Regions from separate parts of the Homo sapiens genome. Here region 1 is linked to region 2. The links are contacts of gene promoters, found by promoter capture Hi-C in blood cells and fetal thymus (Javierre and others, 2016). All regions are on one chromosome and are shown on one strand. The core of a region is centred on a gene start or on the middle of the fragment in contact, and the rest is flanking DNA. Distances in the headings are between cores, read along the strand shown.

The links. The method cuts DNA at HindIII sites, captures the fragments that hold promoters and counts their contacts. A CHiCAGO score of 5 or more calls a contact.
Region 1: a contact is called between a fragment that was not itself captured here and the fragment with the promoter of SAP130 in region 2, in 1 of 17 cell types (neutrophils). The highest score is 5.2, in neutrophils.

The regions. Positions count from the first base shown.
Region 1 is chr2:127,687,838-127,691,671 of GRCh38, forward strand. No RefSeq gene overlaps it. Among named protein-coding and RNA genes, the nearest start is that of SFT2D3, 12 kb to the right of the region's middle. The HindIII fragment of the contact is 6,533 bases long and covers 1-3,834 here.
Region 2 is chr2:128,026,435-128,030,135 of GRCh38, forward strand. SAP130 (Sin3A associated protein 130) reads right to left here and starts at 1,625. Exons shown (of 21, transcript NM_001330301.2): 1 at 1,506-1,625. RefSeq lists silencers at 603-892, 953-1,292, 1,393-1,912, 2,163-2,312. The HindIII fragment of the contact is 20,582 bases long and covers 1-3,701 here.

The DNA of each region.
Region 1 (3,834 bases), core at 712-3,211, 340 kb before region 2:
CAGCTACTCGGGAGGCTAAAGCATGATGATCGCTTGAACCTGGGAGGCAGAGGTTGCAGTGAGCCAAGATCGTGCCACTGCACTCCAGCCTGGATGACAGAGTGAGACTCCATCTCAAAAAAAAAAAAAATAGTGGTGAATTTTGTCAAATGCTTTTTCTATGTCTGTTGAAATGTCCATATGAGTTTTGTCCTTCAGTGTATTAATGTAGTGTATTACAGTGATTGATGTTAATATATTATACCAACCTTGCATTCCTGGGATAAATCCCACTTCAATGTGGTATATAATCCTTTGTATATGTTGCTGGATTAGGCTGCTAGTAATTAGTTGAGGATTTTTGTGTATATTCATAAGAGATGTTGGCTGTAATTTTTCATCCATCTCCTTTGTGCTGTTACTGTTAAATAACATTTTGACAAAATGTTGACACATATTACATTCCTATATGTGCATAGCCCATAAAAAGTTACATGCATATTTTCTTATGCAATTACTTTTTAGATCAGTTAAGAGGAGAAGAAGAAATATGCAATTATACTTTATATTGTAATTATCTACTTTTACCAACACTTTTGTTTTTCATGTGGATTCAAATTAGTTTCTGGTGTCACTTGCTTTCTATCTGAAAAACCTTAAATATTTCTTGTTACTCAGGACTGGTAGCAATAAATTCAGTCAGATTTTATTTATTTTGGAGTGCTTTTTATTTTGCCATTATTGTTGAAAGATAGTTTTGTTGGGTATGGAATTATTGGTTAACAGGTTTTTTGTTGTTGTTTTGTTTTTACTGTTAAGCACTTTGAACATGTCATACCACGGCTTTCTAGCCCCCATTGCTTCTGATGAGACATCATTTGTCAATATTATTGTACTACTGGTACACAATGAATTGTATTCCTTTTGCTGCATTTAAGATTTTATCTTTATCTTTGGCTTTCAAAATTTGACTATAATATGTCTGAGTGTGAATGCCTTTGTGTTCATCCTACTTGAAATTCATTGTTTCTCAGATGTTTAGAATAATGTTTTTCATCAAAGTTGGGGAAATTGGTCAGGCACAGTGGCTCTTGCCTTTAGGTGATGAGTAAGCTCAGGACTTTAGGAGGCTGAAGTGGGATGATCATTTGAGGCTAGGAGTTCAAGACCAGCCTAGGAAATACAGCAAGACCCTGTCTTTACAAAAAACTTGAAAATTAGCTGAGCATTGGGGTGCATGCCTGTAGTCCTAGCTACTTGGGAGGTTGAGGCAGGAAGAATGCTTGAGCCCAGGGAGTCAAAGTTAGAGTGAGCTATGCTTGTGCCACTGCCTTCCAGGCTGGGTGACAGAGCAAGACTCTTTCTATAAACATGATAATATTAATAAATTTTAAATAAATAAGCAAATAATTTGGGGAAATTTTCAGCCATTGTGCCTTCTAATAATTTTTATGTCCCTTTCTCTCACTTCTCTCCATTATTCTTATGTGTATTAGTCCATTTTTACATTGCTATAAAGAAATACCTGAGACTGGGTAATTTATAAAGAAAGGAGATTTAATTGGCTCACAGTTCTGCAGGCTGTACAGGAAGTGTGGCAGCATCTGCTTGGCTTCTGGGGAGGCCTTAGGAAACTTATACTCATGGCAGAAGGTGAAGGAGAAACAGGCACATCTTACATGGCCAGAGCAGAAGGAAAAGAGAAGGAGCAGGGAGGTGCTACTTTTTTTTTTTTTTTTGAGCTGGAGTCTCACTCTGGCCTAGGCTGGAGTGCAGTGGTGCAATCTCTGCTCACTGCAACCTCTGCCTCCCAGGTTCAAGTAATTCTCCTGCCTCAGCCTTCCAAGTAGCTGGGATTACAGGCACCCACCACCATACTCAACTAATTTTTGTGTTTTTAGTAAAGACAGGGTTTCACCATGTTGGCCAGGCTGGTCTTGAACTCCTGGCCTCAGGTGATCTGCCCCCCCTTAGCCCCCCAAAGTGCTGGGATTACAGGTGTGAGTCACTGTGCCTGGCCCAGACTTGTAAATGACCAGATTTTATGAGAACTCACTATTATGACTAAGGAGGATGGTGCTAAACCACTGGAAACTGCCCCCATGATCCAGTCACCTCCCACCAGGCCCCACCTCTAACACTGGGAATTATAATTTAACACGAGATTTGGGTGGGGACACAAACCATATCATTTTGCCGCCGGCCCCTCCCAAATCTCATGTCCTTCTGATATTTCAAAATATAATCATGCAGTCTCACAAAGTGTTAACTTATTCCAGCATTAACTCAAAAGTCCAAAATCTCATCTGAGACAAGGCAAGTTCCTTCCACCTATGAGCCTGTAAAATCAAAAACAAGTTAGTTACTTCCAATGGGGGTACAGTCATTGGTTAAATACTCCCATTCCAAAAGGGAGAAATCAGCCAAAAGAAAGGGGCTTCAGGCCCCATGCAAGTTCAAAACCCAGCAGGGTAGTCGTTCAATCTTAAAGGTCCAAAATAATCTCATTTGACACCATGCCCCACATCCAGGGGACACTAGTGTGAGAGCTGGGCTCCCAAGGCCTTGGGAAGCTCTCCCCCTGTGGCTTTGCAGGGTTCAGCCCACATGGCTGCTCTCAAGGGATGGTCTTGAGTGCCTGTGGCTTTTCCAGGTGCAGGATGCAAGCAGCCAGTGGATCTACCATTCTGAGGTCTGGAAGACAGAGGTCCTCATCTCACAGCTCCACTAGGTAGTCCCCCAGTGGGGAGTCTGTGTGGGGGCTCCAACCCCACATTTCCACACTGCCTTAGTAGAGGTTCTGTATGAGGGCTTTGCCCCTGCAGCAGGTTTCTGCCTGAACATCCAGGCATTTCCATACATCCTCTGAAATTTAGGCAGAGGCTCCCAAGCCTAAACTCTTGCATTCTGTGCACCTGCAGGCTTAACACCACATGAAAGTTGCCAAGTTTAATGGCTTGCACCCTCTGAAACAGTGGCCAGGGCCCCTTTCAGCCAGCTGGAGCTGGAGCAGCTGGGATGCAGGGAGTAGAGTCTCAAGGCTGTGCAGGGCAGCAGGGCCCTGGGCCTGACCTAGAAAACCATTCAGTCCTCTGAAGCATCCAGGCCTGTGCTGGGAGGGGCTGCCACGAAGGTCTCTGAAATGCCTTCTAGACCTTTTCCCCATTGTCTTGGCTATTAGCACTTGGGCTCCTCTTTACTTATGCAAATTTCTGCAGCCTGCTTGAATTCCTCCCCCGAAAATTAGCTTTTCTTTTCTACCACATGGCCAGGCTACAAATTTTCCAAACTTTTACACTCTGCTTCCCTTTTAAATATAAGTTCCAGGTTCAGGTCATTTCTTTGCTCACACATATGAGCGTAGGTTGTTAGAAGCAGCCAGGCCAATCCGTAAACACTTTGCAGCTTAAAAATTTCTTCCACCAGATACCCTAAATCATCACTCTCAAGTTCAGAGTGCCACAGATCCCTAGGGCAGGGGCACAACACCACCAGGTTCTGTTGCGAATATGTAACAAAGGTTATCTTTGCTCCAGTTCCCATTAAGTTCCTTATTTCCATCTGAGACCTCCTCACCCTGGCCTTCACTATCCATATTACTATCAGCATTTTGGTCACAACCATTTAACCAGTCCGTAGGGAGTTCCAAATTTCCCCTCATCTTCCTGTCTTCTTCTGAGCCCTCCAAACTCTTCCAACCTCTGCTCATTACCCAGTTCCAAAGTCACTTCCACATTTTCAGGTATTTTTATAGCAATGTCCCACTCCTCAGTACCAATTTTCTATATTAGTCCATTCTTGCATAGCTATAAAGAAATTCCAGAGACTGGGTAATTTATAAAGAAGAGAGGTTTA
Region 2 (3,701 bases), core at 375-2,874:
CTTGGGATCAATATAAATGCAGACATTATCTAAACTACCTAAGTTTTCTACAAATATTGTTTATACGGAGCTGGCGGGTACTATGACCCTCCATAAATACTTGTGGATTGCTATGCTAAAAAAATCACCATTGAATCCTGTACAAGAGTCACATGACAGGTATTACCACAATGCATGTGTATTTCTCTGTGTAAAGTTTTATGGAAAATGGCATGTCTCTTTGAAACACTCAAATCTCACACCAAGGTGAACAGAACTGTGATTAGTATGTCATAGGAACATTCGGAGGAAGATATCCAGCCCTAAGAAAAGATCCGATATCTTACATCCAGACCCGATGCAAAAGGAATTCTCCAATGCTTTTCGGCAAAGGCCTCCATTTACGGATTTCCTTTTCCTTCTCTTCCACAGATCCCCTCACAGAGCCAGAGGACCCTACACCTTCTCCATCTTCCCTAAAATCGCCCCCCACTTTTCCCTCAGGAGCCAAGCGATCTCCCGATTCGCCCGCAACCCCACCCCACCGCGAAGCCCCCGCTGAGACCGGAGGACGCCGGTTTCCAGACACCTCGGAGTGTGAGACCCCCGTCTCCGGGGTGGGGGTGCGGACGGGCGATCTGGGGACCCGACCACAAGACGAGCACTGTGCCTCTTTACCTGTAGCCGCCGCCCGCCGCCCGCACCGCCCGCTTCTATCTCGCCGGCCTGGGGGTGCCGCGGAGGGCCCATCTCGGCGGCGGCGATGTGCTCGGCGGGCGCGGGGAGGGATCGCGGCGGCGGCGCCCGGGGCCCGCTGCTGTCCAGCCCCGCTGGCCCCACTCACCCCCGCCACCCGGCCGCCGCTGTGCTCGCAGTCCTCTTCCCCCGAACCTGCCCCTGCCTCCCCCGCCCGCCCATTGGCCCCACGCCCGACGCGTCAGTGGAGGCCCAGGACCAATCCACAGCGACCTGCACGTTCAGAGCCCGCCCCACCCTCCCGCCGACTGCCAGCCAATCAGGCGCGAGCCTGGCCGGGGCAGCCCAAACCCCTCGAGGCTGAGCCAATGGCAGAGGAAGACAGGCGCCCCCGGCGAAGGGGGCGGGGAGCGGGGAGGCCCCGCCTCAGCCAGGGTCTGAAAGCGGCGGGCGCAGGGCCCGGATGTGGAGAGTCACTTTAAACTGCTCCAGGAGCCAAACTCCCTGGGCCGGCCGCCCGCCCGCCCGCCCGCCCGCGCTCCCCCGGCCGCTCTGCTTCCCCGCCAAGGCCCACGTCCGCCACGCCCCCACGCCCGGGTCAGCCCACCCCTCCCGGTGCCTCTCCCTTCCTCGCCACAGGACACCCAGCCCCTGTCGCCGGCCCAACCGCCGTGACCAGCTCGCGAAAGAGCCGCGGTCCGAGCCGCAGGAGACGAGGATCCTCTGCCCTTCCCCGGGGACGCGCAACGGGACGGACGCTGCAGCCCGGCTCAGCCGCCCCGCCCCCTCGTCTCCTCCCCTTCCCTCCCGGGCGCCCGTCCCGCCATTACCTGGGTGCTGCGCCCAGTGGCCGCCGCGCCGCCTTGAGCTCGCTCCCGCGCGCTCTCCGTCTGTGGGGCCGACGTCCCCAGGCTCCGGACCCGCAGCCACCGCCGGGGAGCTAGCACTCTGCCCCCCACCCCTCACTCCAGCGCCGCTGCTTCCGCCGCCGTAACGAGCCTCCCGTCTATTGGCTGGCGCAGGCCCCGCCCCCTGCCGAGTCAGCCAGTCGCCGGTGGTCGTGAGCGGGAGAGCGGACGGGCCCGCCCCTCTGAGCCGCGGCGTCCTGTGGGAAATGTAGTCGCCGGAGTCAGGAGGGCGGGCCGCGAAGGAGGTGGAGAGCGCCGGGGCGGGGCCGCAGGCGACCCGGCCAGGGCAACACACCCCTTTGCTGTCTGAAGTCGGTTCTGCCTTTTCTCTTGGCTAAGTGAGAAGACAGTGGATCCCACCCTATGCCTTAACCTGAGGGCACTGGGTTTCATTTTCCCCGCGGGGAGGCGCGGCGCGGGAAAGGGTAATGGAGGCCAACTGCGGCGGCCAAGGGATCCGCGGGCCGGGCCAGTGTCGTGACGGTGCCCGCCTCCCTATGCCGCGAGTGGGACTCGGTGTCCCCACCGGGAACCGCGGTCGGCACAGCCTACGCGCGGCGGGAGCCGCCAGGCGCAGCGCGGGCGCGGCTCTGTGAAAGCAGGCCGGCAGGGCGCAGGGCTCTGGGCGGCCGGGGCGCACCTGCGCGCGCTTTCCGGATTATAAAGGAGCTGAAGGGGGCAGTTTTATTTTGTCATTTTGCTTGGGGTTCAGGGTTGGAGTTTATGCACCTGTAGAAGACTTAGCCATATCTTTTGAGGCCACATTTGTGTCTGATAAGAGATTAAGTCTCCCTCTTCCCTTACCAGATGGTAATTTAGGCCTGGAGTTTTGTGATTAGTTAGGAAATAAATGGGGCTCAAACCCCCCTCTTCCTATCATGCACAGCTGTGTAAGACAACTGCTTGGTTAGAAGAGAGTAGCTCCTGGCTATAGCCCAGGGATGAGTCTCAGATACTCCTCCTCTTCAAGCCACTTTCCTTTTCCACCTTCATGCCTTCATTCTCAAACTTCTAAAGAGTGACTCCTGTGATAGACTTCAGCCTCCTCTCTGCCTAGGCAGTCCTTATCCCTTTTGGAGTTGCCACTCTTCTCAGACTGCTCCCCAAAAGTTGCCAACACCTACTCAACTTCAAACCCATCGGTCCTCACTTAGATCTCATCTTGTTTAGCTTACTGACCAGTAGTAATTCCTCCTCATGTCTTCCCTTGGCCTCTAGAACCAGGCTGTCTCCTGCTTCTACTCCTATGTCAAGCTCCATTATACCTCCTCTTTCTCATAAATACAGCATTCTTCAGGGCTCCAACACGCTAATGCTATACTGCCTTCCTAAATGGTTTAATGTATTTCCACAGTTTCAAATGTCATCCTTTTTGTTTTTTGTTTTTTTGAGACAGGTTCTCAGTTCAGCCCAAGCTGAAGTCCAGTGGCGTGATCACAGCTCATTGCAGCCTCGACTTCCTTGTCTCAACTAACTTATTGCCTCAGCCTCCTGAGTAGCCAGGACTGCAGGCGCATGCCACCACACCCCACTAAACATATATATATGCCAGGCACGTGGCTCATGCCTGTAATCCCAGCACTTTGGGAGGCCGAGGCAGGCGAATCACCTGAGGTCAGGAGTTCGAGACCAGCCTGACCAACATGGGAAAGACCCCATCTCTACTAAAGATACAAAATTAGCCGGGAATGGTGGCAAATTCCTGTAATCCCAGCTACTCAGGAGGCTAAGGCAGGAAAATTGCTTGAACCCGGGAGGCAGAAGTTGCTGTGAGCCCAGATCAAGCCATTGCACTCCAGCCTGGGCAACAAGAGCGAAACTCTGTCTCAAAAATATATATTTATATATGAATACATATATTTTATATATATAATATATATTTTTGAGATGGAGTTGTATGTATATATATGTATATATGTATATATATGTATATATACGTGTGTGTGTGTGTGTGTGTGTGTGTGTGTATATATATATTTTTTTTTTTTTGAATAGAGACAGGGTTCCACCATATGCCCAGGCTGGTCTTGAACTCCTGGGCTTAAGCGATCTGCCCACCTCAGCCTCCCAATGTGCTGGCATTATAGGCATGAGCCACTACACCCAGCCTCAAATATC